Linked DNA regions of Homo sapiens: all the other regions are linked to region 3. The links are contacts of gene promoters, found by promoter capture Hi-C in blood cells and fetal thymus (Javierre and others, 2016). All regions are on one chromosome and are shown on one strand. The core of a region is centred on a gene start or on the middle of the fragment in contact, and the rest is flanking DNA. Distances in the headings are between cores, read along the strand shown.

Region 1 (3,052 bases), core at 16-2,515, 290 kb after region 3:
GTGCCTGTAGTCCCAGCTACTCAGGAGGCTGAGGTAGGAGGATTACTTGAGTCCAGGAGTTCAAGGTTGCAGTGAGATATGATTTCACCACTGCACTCCAGCCTGGGTGACAGAGCGTGACCTTGTCTCAAAAAACAAAAACAGGCTGGGCGCAGCGGCTCACGCCTGTAATCCCAGCACTTTGGCAGGCTGAGGTGGGTGGATCACCTGAGGTCGGGAGTTCAAGACCAGGATGACCAACATGGAGAAACCCTGTCTGTACTAAAAATACAAAATTAGCCGGGCGTGGTGGTGCATGCCTGTAATCCTGGCTACTCAGGAGGCAGAGGTAGGAGAATCGCTTGAACCCGGGAGGCGGAGGTTGCAGTGAGCCAAGATCACACCATTGCACTCTACCTTTGGCAACAAGAGCGAAACTCTAACAACAACAAAAAAATCCTGTTTAATGTCTTATATCTTATCTCGAAATCTCAGATCTTGCATTTAAGGAGTGTTATATATATACTTTATAGTATATGATGCATTGTGGATTCATTTTTTGCTTGTTTACAAGTTGTAAAAAATATATATGTGGTGGGAATTTGTGGGGTTCCAAGAACAGGGTTCCTCAAGGAGTGTCCTTATAAAACTTAAGGATGTATTAGGTCCATATCAGAGAAGCTGCTACTTCTATATGTGTTTCCAACCTCAGTAGCTTCACCAAAGGCCCATAGCTCCTCCCTCCATCTTCATGTTCTTGTGACCAATGATTTGAAAAACAATTTTGGGAAAATCCAGAGTAATTGTGCATCAGTAACATGTGGTTAAGCAAAATTGGGGTAGCAATGCTAATACTTCTGTCATTGAGCAGTTTTATGTGTGTTATGGTAATTTTACATTATCTGTAATTTTTATTGTTTAGTGGTTTCCCAATACCAGTTTAGTGTTAAATGCTAGGAATACATCTCAGAATATTCTCTGTCCAGCGAACACAATCAATGATCTTTAAAACAAAATTTCGTTGCAGGACGTACTCATAGATCAAACCAAGTTACTGCTCCTGAGTATGTCTTTCTGATATCTGAACTGGCAGGAGAACAAAGATTTGCATCTATTGTTGCTAAAAGACTTGAGAGTTTGGTGAGTTTTGGAGTTGTGTGGCTGTGTGTAAATGATGATCTATTGTACCTGTTTTCTGGTAAAAGGTTACCTGTGCCTTGATTGAAATTTTTGTTTTTAACAGGGGGCACTTACACATGGTGATAGAAGGGCAACAGAATCTAGAGATCTGAGCAGGTTCAACTTTGATAATAAGGTACATTTCAATTTTCAGTATCTCTGAAAACTTGTGATAGTGTATGGTGTCTTTCGGGAACACAAAAGGAAAGTAGTTACTGTCTAAAACAAAACTGCCTCTCCTATGCATTTGCTTTAAAATCATGGCTTCCTATAAGACAGAATTTCACATGTATGTTAGATCGCATGTTAAGTATCAGTACAGCAATGTAGTTGTCTTTATTCCTTTTGGAAAACAAGAATAAATGAGACTGAATTAACTGTGAGTTCTCAGAAGCAAAGGAAGTTAATTTTTCTCATGTTTTTTATGTGTAGAGACATGAACTAGGCAGTATAAAATATATATAAAGGCCAGGCGCTGTGGCTCATGTCTGTAATCCCAGCACTTTGGGAGGCCAAGGCAGGTGGATCACTTGAGGTCAGGAGTTCGAGACCAGCCTGGCCAACGTGGTGCAACCACATCTGTACTAAAAAAAAAAAAAAAATACAAAAATTAGGCCGGGATCAGTTGCTCACACCTATAATCCCAGAATATAGGAGGCCAAGGCAGGTGGGTCACCTGAGGTCAGGAATTCGAGACCAGCCTGACCAACATAGTGAAATCCCATCTCTACAAAAATTAGATGGGCGTGGTGGCATGCATCTGTAGTCCCAGCTACTTGGAAGGCGGAGGTTGCAGTGAGCCGAGATCATGCCACTGCACTCCAGCCTGGGCAATAGGGCAAGACTCTGTCTCAAAAAATTATACAAAAATTAGTTGGGCGTGGCTGGGCACAGTGGCTCACGCCTGTAATCCAGCACTTTGGGAGACCGAGGTGGGTGGATCACGAGGTCATGAGATCGAGACCATCCTGGCCAACATGGTGAAACCCTGTCTCTACTAAAAATAGAAAAATTAGCTGGGCGTGGTGGTGTGCGCCTGTAGTCCTAGCTACTTGGGAGGCTGAGGCAGGAAAATCACTTCAACCTGGGATGCAGAGGTTGCAGTGAGCCGAGTTTACACCACTGCACTCCAGCCTGTCAACAGAGCAAGACTCCGTCTCAAAGAAAAAAAAAATTTAGTTGGGCATGGTGGCGGGCACCTATAATCCCAGCTACTTGGGAGGCTGAGGCAGGAGAACCGCTTGAACCCAGGAGGCGGAGGTTTCAGTGAGTAGAGATCGTGCCATTACATTCCAGCCTGGGCGATGAGCAAAACTCTGTCTCCAAAAAAAGAAAAAATAAATAAATACATATAAAGATAATTGAGAATTGCTTTTTTGAATCTTTGGTACAATAAGTTTGTGGGTTTTTTGGGGTTTTGTTGAGAGGGAGTTTTTTGCTCTTGTCGCCCAGGCTGGAGCACAATGACGCCATCTCGGCTCACTACAACCTCCGCCTCCTAGGTTCAAGCAATTCTCCTGCCTCAGCCTTCCAAGTAGCTGGGATTACAGGTGTCTGCCACCACACCCAGCTAATTTTTTGTAGTAGAGATGGGGTTTCACCATGTTGGTCAGGTTGGTCTTGAACTCCCAACCTCGGGTGATCCACCCACCTCGACCTCCCAAAGTGCTGGGATTACAGGCATGAGCCACCGCACCCAGCCAGTAGTTTTTATAGTATTTAGGTGGTCATGTGATTGAAGAGTATCCAAATGCTGAAACTGGTTAAAGGTTTTGATTTTTTTTTGCAGTATGGAAGAAATGCTTTAGAAATTGTCATGAAATCCATTGTAAACTTGGATTCTCCTATGGTATCACCACCTCCAGACTATCCTGGAGAATTTTTTAAAGGTAAC
Region 2 (2,992 bases), core at 277-2,776, 270 kb after region 3:
TTGGCTCACTGGAACCTCCGCCTCCCAGGTTCATGCCATTCTTCTGCCTCAGCCTCCCGAGTAGCTGGGACTACAGGCACCCACCGCCACGCCCGGCTAATTTTTTCTGTTTTTAGTGGAGATGGGGTTTTACCGTGTTAGCCAGGATGGTCTCGATCTCCTGACCTCATGATCCACCCATCTCGGCCTCCCAAAGTGCTGGGATTACAGGTGTGAGCCACCGTGCCCGGCCCAATCCCAGTACTTTGGGAGGCTGAGGCAGGCGGGTCACCCTGAGGTCAGGAGTTAGAGACCAGCCTGGCCAACGTGGTGAAACCCTGTCTCTACCAAAAATACAAAAATTAGCCAGGCATGGTGGTACACACCTCTAGTGCCATCTACTTGGGAAGCTAAGTCAGGAGAATCACTTGAACCCAGGAGGTGGAGGTTGCAGTGAGCTGAGATTGTGCCACTGCACTCCAGCCTGGACGACAGAGTGAGACTCTGTCTGAAAAAAACTAAAAAACCACTGGCCGGGCACTTTGGGAGGCTGAAGCTGGCGGATCACCTGAGGTTGGGAGTTCGAGACCAGCCTGGCCAACATGGTGAAACCCTGTCTCTACTAAAAATACAAAAACTAGCTGTGCGTGGTGGCACATGCCTGTAATCCTAGCTACTCGGGAGGCTGAGGCAGGAGAATCACTTGAACTCAGGAGGCGGAGGTTGCGGTGAGCCGAGATTGTGCCATTGCACTCTAGCCTGGGCAACAAGAGCAAAACTGTCTCAAAAACAAAACAAAACAAAAACAAACAAAAACCTGTTTGATTCTGCAGGTGTTGATAAGGGGTATGGCGGGCTCCTCACTAATTTGTTAACTTTCATTACCTGGTGCATGGAAGAGTAGCAGGAGATAATATACAGTAAATATGTAGAAAGTATTCACATTGAGCTGGGCGCGGTGACTCGTGCCTGTAATCTCAGCACTTTGGGAGGCCAAGGCGGGTGCATCATGAGGTCAGGAGATCGAGACCATCCTGGTCAACGTGGTGAAACCCTGTCTACTAAAAATACAAAAAATTAGCTGGGCGTGGTGGTGCATACCTGTAATCCCAGCTACTCGGGAGGCTGAAGCAGGAGAATAGCTTGAACAGGAATTCAGAGGTTGCAGTGAGCCGAGATTGTGCCACTGCACTTCAGCCTGGCAACAGAGCGAGACCCCGTTTCAAAAAAAGAAAAAAAAGAAAGTATCCACATTAAAGCCAAAACTATAAAATTTGGCTGGGTGCAGTGCCTCACACCTGTAATCCCAGCACTTTGGGAGGCTGAGGCGGGCGGATCACGAGGTCAGGAGATCGAGATCATCCTGGCTAACATGGTGAAACCCGTTTCTACTAAAAATAGAAAAAATTAGCCAGGCGTGGTGGCGGGCGCCTGTAGTCCCACCTACTCAGGAGGCTGAGGAAGGAGAATGGTGTGAACCCGGGAGGCAGAGATTGCAGTGAGCCAAGATCGCGCCACTGCACTCCAACCTGGGCGACAGAGCGAGACTCCGTCTCAAAAAAAAATCCAAAACTCTATGAAATTTATGTAAAAATAAAGTCACAAAATACATATACAAAACAAAAAACATAACATATTCCTACTCCTAAAACAGTGTATGAAAGATTGATCACCAAAATATCTGAAGGATTATATTAATTACCAGCCTTTTGTTTTTCAGCAACATGAAACTTTCCTACCTAATGGAGATCGTGCTGGCTTCTTAATAGGTGATGGTGCCGGTGTAGGAAAAGGAAGGACGATAGCAGGAATCATCTATGAAAATTATTTGTTGAGTAGAAAACGAGCATTGTGGTAAGTGTTTAAAAACTGGCTGTGGGCCAGGCGCAGCGGATCACGAGGTTAGGAGATCGAGACCATCCTGGCTAACACAGTGAAACTCCGTCTCTACTAAAAGTACAAAAAATCAGCCGGTCGTCATGGTGGGTTCCTGTAGTCCCAGCTACTCAGGAGGCTGAGGCAGGAGAATGGCGTGAACCCTGGAGGCATAGCTTGCAGTGAGCCGACATTGTTCCTCTGCACTCCAGCCTGGGTGACAGAGTGCGACTCCGTCTCAATGGAAGGTTTTGTTAGTAATTACTTTAGCATGTGGGGATGGGATCCGCCTTCCCCATCTAGACAGGATCTTTGTCACCCAGGCTGGAGTGCTGTGGCATATTCATGGCTCACTGCAGCCTCTACCTCAGGGGCTCAAGCAGTTCTGCCTCAGCCTCTTGAGTAGCTGGGACTACAGGCATGCACTACCATGCTTGGCTAATTTTTTGTAGATACGGGCTCTTCTTGTGTTGCTCAGGCTGGTCTCGAACTCCTGGGCTCAAGCAGTCCTCCTGCCTTAGGCTCCCAAAGTGCTAGGATTATGGGTGTGAGCCACTGCACTCAGTGGGATGGTGTTTTAATGAGTAAGTGTATTTTCTTTTTCTTTTTTTTTTTTTTTTTAAGTGTCAAGACCTGGCTTTATTAATTTTATTCCTGAATTCTAGAATGATATAATTTGTATTTAATTTGTGCTTTTTAATATTTTGGCAGGTTTAGTGTTTCAAATGACTTAAAGTATGATGCTGAAAGAGATTTAAGGGATATTGGAGCAAAAAACATTTTGGTTCATTCGTTAAATAAGGTATGAAATCTTTTTATTCAGTTGGTCATTCAATAAATATTGACTCATCTGTGAGATGACAATAATAATAGCTATGTATATAAGGGGACACTTTTTGGAAAACTTTGATGTTACTCCACAGAAAGCATAGTGAGTGCTAGCCACTATTGTTGGTTTGTGGATTCCTATATGCTAAACACTGACAGGCAGTAGCCACTCATCACATGTGGCTATTGAACAGTGTAAGTGACCAGTCCAAATTGAGATGTGCTCTCAAGTGTACAGTGCACACCAGTTGATTCTCTCAATTTTCAGTGTTATTTTTATCTTTCTTTTATAGTTTATATGCCATAAGGG
Region 3 (2,995 bases), core at 383-2,882:
TGGGAAATGGTAACACCATTCACTCAGCTACTAATAAAAATCAGCCGGGTGCGGTAGCTCAGCCTGTAATCCCAGCACTTTGGGAGGCCAAGGCGGGTGGATCAGGAGGTCAGGAGTTCAAGACCAACCTGGCCGAGATGGTGAAACCCCGTATCTACTAAAAATACAAAAAATTAGCCGGGCATGGTGGCAGGCACCTGTGATCTCAGCTACTTGGGAGGTTCAGGCAGAGAATTGCTTGAACCCAGGAGGCGGAGGTTGCAGTGAGCCGAGATCGCGCCACTGCACTCCAGCCTGGGCAACAGAGCGAGACTCCATCTCAAAAAAAAAAAAAAAAAGAATAAAAACCTCAGGTCCTGTAGTCTTTTCTTTCCTAACCTCCACTTCCAGTCCCTTAGCAACCTTAAAGCTATCCCAAATGTGACTTCTCAGTATCCACTGGTTCCACCCTACTCCAAGTCACCATCATCTCTTACCTGACAATGGCCTCCTAAGCGACCTGCCTGCTTCATCTCTTATGCCTGGAAAGGCCACTCTCTACAGAGAAATCACAGCCCTTCCCTTCCTAAACATCCTCCCAGATAAGATGGCTTCCCACTACATTTAGAATGAAATCCAAGCGCCTACAAGACCCTGCACAATCCATCTCTTACACTACTCTTGATGTTCAGCCACAAAGGCCTCCTTTCTGCTGCTCAAACTATTTGCAGCCTGCCGCAGGGCATTTATGTGCACTGGTATTTCTCTCCAGTGGAATAATCTCCCCCTAGTCACCTCAGAGCCAGCTCCTTCTCAATCACTGAGGTCTCAGCTCAATGCACCTCCTCAGAGAGGCCTTCCTTAACACCCTATCTCACCTCCTCTGCAGTCCTCGCGCGACACTATCACAACCGTCTTAGTTCTTTCATAACACTTACCAGCAGCTGAAATTATCCTTTCTCTAGCTCTTGCACTAGAAAGTAAGGCTATGAGCAGATGCCAATACTGCAAACTCCCCAGAGCCTAGAAGAGTTCCTGACACATAGCAGGTCCTCAAGAAATATTCTTGAAGAGATGCATAACAACGGTAACCCTTACTGAGCTCCCATAGTGTGCCGACTGGTTTATTTAGTCCCCACAGCAACCCCATAAGGAGGGTGTTATTTTTTCGTCATTTCACAGAGAAGGAAAATGAAGCACGGAGAGGTTAAGCCATTTGCCCGAGGTCTCACAGCTACAGCGAGCAGGGCCAGGATGAGAACCAGGCTTGAGACCACAGCACCCGAGGGCGGGGTGGGTCGCGGCCCCTCTGCCGGCTCGCTGGCCGGGCAGCTCCGCATTCCGCCAGTCTGGGCAGCTGGAGACAAGGCAAGAGCCCCAGCTGGAGGGATGAGCGCCCCAGGGCTCAGATCTGTCCGATCACCTCCTGTGGGTCCGATGCAGCGGGTGCCTGCCCCTCTCCCAGCCTCACTCCCCCACGCCAGGGAACCGATACCTGCACCGGCGTCATGTACGGGAAGCCCAGCTCCCGCAGCGCGCCCAGCACCTGCGGGTGCAGCGGCACAGGCAGCGACTCCCAGGAGCCCTCTGTCACATGCTCCATGGCGCGCTCCTTCGCCGCGTCGGTCGCCGCTGCTCGAACGCGCCTTGTGCACCCCCAACGAGCACTTCCGCTTCCCGCAGCTCCAGCGGCCGGCCGGGAACTTCGCTGGAGCAGCAGAGTTCCGGAGCGCGGCGAAGGCTCCCACGCCGCGGGAGGGAGGAAAGGCGTCCGCGGGACGGTGGAGGCAGGCGGCGGGGCAGGCCTGGGGAGTTACACCCGCTCCGCACAGCGCCCTGGGCTCCGGGCGCCTCTCCGCACCGGGCAGGAGTTTTGGCGGGAGGGATTCTGGCCCGGCCCTCCCACTTTCTCTGCCCCTCGGAGGCAGGTGGCAGCACAGGACCGCGTCCAGGCCGAAGGACAGCGGGGCTGGCTACCGTGGGCAGAGAAACGTGTCGGGGACCCGGGTTAGCAGCCCTGCAAAACAGGCACCCGCTGATGGCCGGTACGTCCTGAATGTTGCGGTCCGATGGCCGGTACGTCCTGAATGTTGGTTTACTTTCCCGGAAGTTAGGGTCAGAGTCCTAACTAAGAACACTGTCCCATTCCTCTGTTCACTGTTTGCCTGGGCCATTCATGTCCACATACAACTTCACTCAGAAAGCTGTTTTTGTTGTTGTTGTTGTTGTTGTTGTTGTTTGAGACGGAGTCTCGCTCTGTTGCCCAGGCTGGAGGCTGGGCGCTATAACGGTTCACTGCAAGCTCCGCCTCCCGGGTTCACGCCCTTCTCCTGCCTCAGCCTCCCGAGTACCTGGGACTGCAGGCGCCCTCCACCACGCCCGGCTAATTTTTTGTATTTTTAGTAGAGACGGGGTTTCACCGTGTTAGCCAGGATGGTCTCGATTTCCTGACCTCGTGATCCGCCCGCCTCGGCCTCCCAAAGTGCTGGGATTACAGGCGTGAGCCACCGCGCCCGGCCTTCACTCAGCAAACTTTTATTGACCACTCATTATGTGCCCTCTATGAGGGCCTATCTCCTCCACCTATGTGCATGGCTTGCTCCTGTTGAGGCTCTGAAAACGAAACCCCAAAATGAAGGCCCCAGAGGCAGCCTCAGAAGCAAGTTTCTCTCTGACCTTCTGCTCCCTCTCTGATCTCTGATTCTCTGAGGCTAGCCATAGAAACTCAAGAATCCCTCTTGCCCATGACGGAGCATAGAAACAGGAATCCCTTTTCTCCACAGTCAGCCATAAAACCTAAAAATATTACTCTCTCTCCACCTTTCTGTGAAAAAACTGGCCATAAAGAAATTATTGGCCTGGCACGGTGGCTCACGCCTGTAATCTCACCACTTTGGGAGGCCAAAGCGGGCAGATCTCAAGGTCAGGAGTTCGAGACCAGCCTGGCCAATATGGTGAAACCCCGTCTCTACTAAAAATACAGAAATTAGCCAGGCGTGGTGGCGCATGCCTGTAG
Region 4 (2,845 bases), core at 266-2,765, 310 kb after region 3:
CTTTGCCTCTGCAATGCCTTTTTCTTTTTAGCAATATGGCTCTGAGCACAAAGATTTGGTTGGAAATCATGTTCGTGTTTTCAGAGTTTACAGCGTCAATTGTACTGAAAACCACTTCCAGAGTCTAAAGCAGCTCAGATGTTATCTCTGGGGGAATTAGTGTTCCCCTCATTTAGCAACCTCCATACCACAAGGTCTCTGTCTGTAGTTACTGGGATTATCCAGATACACTATCAATGATACAAATTCATAGGAGTATTAATGCATTTCTTTAAACACAACTTGATTAAGAAGCAAATATGTTAAGCAGTTTTCTTTTTCTGCTGCTAAATTACAGTTAGACACTTCAGTATCTTCTCTTTACATGTGTATATAAATTAGTAAGAACCTGCATCCAAAGCAATGTAGTGTGTGTATGTATCTATATATATTTATTCTAACTCAGCACTTCAGAAGCCTTTTTGAGTTACAACAATATTTTAGTTTGCCTCATCTGTAGAGGTAAAATTTCTATATTACCAAGCTCCAGAGGAATATGATATTTTACAGGCACAATTTTCTGGCTGTAGTCCCTGGGGCATTCATTTGCTGGCCTCCATGGGATGCTGTTAGAACAATTGTTAGCCGGCAAGAGAAGAAAGGCTACCAGGACAGCATTTATAATTGTAGAATGGGAGCCTTCTTCCCTCTCCCCTCCACTTTCATTTTAGCATGAGATAAAAAAATAGATTGGAAATGATTGTTGCATCTCACTTCATGGAAGTAGGGGCAGAAGTTCCCTCTGGATCCTTTTCTTGACAAGCAGTCAAGAGGAAGGTCCCCATACACATGTACCTGTGTGATACTTGGTAGTTTCTAAGAATGGTGCTACATAAGCGTTGCTGTTAGGCTGGGATCCTATTAATGAACGTTTGATTAGTTCAGGCCTCCCAATGGCAAAGGCAGACACCGTGGAGATGGACATTTACTGACTCCCCTTCTGTGTGGCTTCGGTCTCCCTGGCTAACACCACACCTGTGCGTACTGCGCTCGGCCCACTTTGCTGCAGAAACGTAGCAAGCGTTTCATGTCAGGGCTACAGCTGAGAGCAAAAACTGCAAAAAAAAAAAAAAATGTCTCATTGAATGCCAGTTGTCTGATACAAATGCAGTGTCTTTTAAGTGACAGAAACACACCTAAATACCTGCAACTCAAGCTCGCTAGCATTTTTTTTTTGAGTACTTGAGATAAAATCCAAAACCCACCCTCTAATTTTGTGCTGTATTTATATATATGTACATAAATGTATATATAGAGAAATGTTGAGTTCTTCTGGATTCTGAATGTAAATAATTCTTGTAAATTGGGACTCTGCCCACCTGTTTCTCCCTTTTCCCTCTTCCCTTCAGCTCTATTTATTCTTTTCTTGACTTTCCCATATGGGGCATCTTATGACTTTTTTTTTTTTTTTTTTTTAAGAAAAGTATGGAAAACTTTTCATTTAGAAAAGTATTTGTTCCTGTATTTTAGAATTCAGTTTTGCATCTTTGCTGTAGAATTCCTGTTTTGTGTTAATGTTTTTTACTATGTCTTATTGTGTTGTGTGCAATGCATTGTACTGGGGGGATGCACTTGAGTGCCATTTCTGATACTGTCATTGTATGACTGCTGATGCTCGTTTATGTTGTTCTTTGGAAGCTATAGTGAGCCTGATGTTTTCACATTTTAAAAAATGCTTCCTGAGACTTCTTTAAGCTCCTCTAACTTCTTCAGTGCATTTGGGATCAAACTTAGCTCTTAGATCAGCAAACCTGACTTGCTTCTACTTTTGCAATTTTTCAGGCCTTACCATATTTCTTATCTCTGTCTTCCCACCTGATAGGAAAATCTTGCAGATTTGAAACAGTGGTTTCTGGCCTGCTGCTGCAGCAAATTCCCTATGTTTATTTAAGAAGTCGGGCCTATGCTTTTAACCTACAAATGATGAGTAATTTACTTGCAATGAACACAGGTAGCCTGCTGCTGTTTATAACCTGTTGAGGATATTTATAGCAGGCAGGAGGCAGGCCTAGTGTGTTATTGACAGGTGACTTTAGAGAATGTACATTGGCCGGGTGCGGTGGCTCACGCCTGTAATCCCAGCACTTTGGGAGGCCGAGGCGGGCGGATCATGAGGTCAGGAGATTGAGACCATCTCCTGGCTAACACGGTGAAACCCCGTCTCTACTAAAAATACAAAAAAAAAAAAAACTTAGCCAGGCGTGGTGGCGGGTGCCTGTAGTCCCAGCTACTCAGGAGGCTGAGGCAGGAGAATGGCATGAACCTGGGAGGCAGAGCTTGCAGTGAGCCCAGATCGCGCCACTGCACTCCAGCCTGGGCAACAGACCGAGACTCCGTCTCGAAAAAAAAAAAAGAGAGAGAATGTACATTAAGGAACAATTGTCCTCCAAAAGAGAGCCAAGCAACTGCTCTGGAGCCTCCTAGGCTGACTCTGCTGGAGGGTGAGACAAGCAGATTCCCATTGCAGCACTGGTCCCTGGGGTACCCTGAACGGCTGTGCTCTCCACCCTTGTATCGGTGAGTGGATCTTGTCTACATCAGCCGTAAGCCTAGAAGCAGAGCGGGATCGAGGCGTTTTTAATAATTCGAGTTGGGAAGACCCGGATGGTTCATCAAAATGATGGTGTTGAGCACCCGGGAGGCAGACATTGGGTATTTGTTCACAATTTTGCACCTGTAAGAAAATGTTCCTTTATAACTTTCAAGGATTGCCGTGAGCGTCTTTGGGGCCTTTTCATTCATGTACAAGTTTCATTCATTACTATTCAACTTGGTAGACTTGGTGAAAAATGTAAAAGCATTCTGT

The links. Contacts are between HindIII fragments. The CHiCAGO score rates a contact against its expected background, and 5 or more counts as called.
Region 1: a contact is called between a fragment that was not itself captured here and the fragment with the promoter of DDX55 in region 3, in 6 of 17 cell types (erythroblasts, M0 macrophages, megakaryocytes and 3 more). The highest score is 6.4, in erythroblasts.
Region 2: a contact is called between a fragment that was not itself captured here and the fragment with the promoter of DDX55 in region 3, in 10 of 17 cell types (total CD8 T cells, megakaryocytes, M2 macrophages and 7 more). The highest score is 7.5, in total CD8 T cells.
Region 4: a contact is called between a fragment that was not itself captured here and the fragment with the promoter of DDX55 in region 3, in 1 of 17 cell types (activated CD4 T cells). The highest score is 5.1, in activated CD4 T cells.

What each region holds. Positions count from the first base shown.
Region 1 is chr12:123,313,615-123,316,666 of GRCh38, reverse strand. It overlaps SBNO1 (strawberry notch homolog 1), which reads left to right. Exons shown (of 32, transcript NM_001167856.3): 22 at 1,007-1,119; 23 at 1,223-1,294; 24 at 2,948-3,047. Among named protein-coding and RNA genes, the nearest start is that of CDK2AP1, 43 kb to the right of the region's middle. The HindIII fragment of the contact is 8,873 bases long and covers 1-3,052 here.
Region 2 is chr12:123,330,083-123,333,074 of GRCh38, reverse strand. It overlaps SBNO1 (strawberry notch homolog 1), which reads left to right. Exons shown (of 32, transcript NM_001167856.3): 8 at 1,700-1,833; 9 at 2,566-2,656. Among named protein-coding and RNA genes, the nearest start is that of MIR8072, 33 kb to the left of the region's middle. The HindIII fragment of the contact is 8,023 bases long and covers 1-2,992 here.
Region 3 is chr12:123,600,736-123,603,730 of GRCh38, reverse strand. It overlaps DDX55 (DEAD-box helicase 55), which reads right to left and starts at 1,632. Exons shown (of 14, transcript NM_020936.3): 1 at 1,475-1,632. The coding sequence starts at 1,582. RefSeq lists an enhancer at 871-920 and a silencer at 1,161-1,270. The HindIII fragment of the contact is 10,701 bases long and covers 1-2,995 here.
Region 4 is chr12:123,290,290-123,293,134 of GRCh38, reverse strand. SBNO1 (strawberry notch homolog 1) reads left to right here. Exons shown (of 32, transcript NM_001167856.3): 32 at 1-2,845. Among named protein-coding and RNA genes, the nearest start is that of CDK2AP1, 20 kb to the right of the region's middle. The HindIII fragment of the contact is 3,566 bases long and covers 1-2,845 here.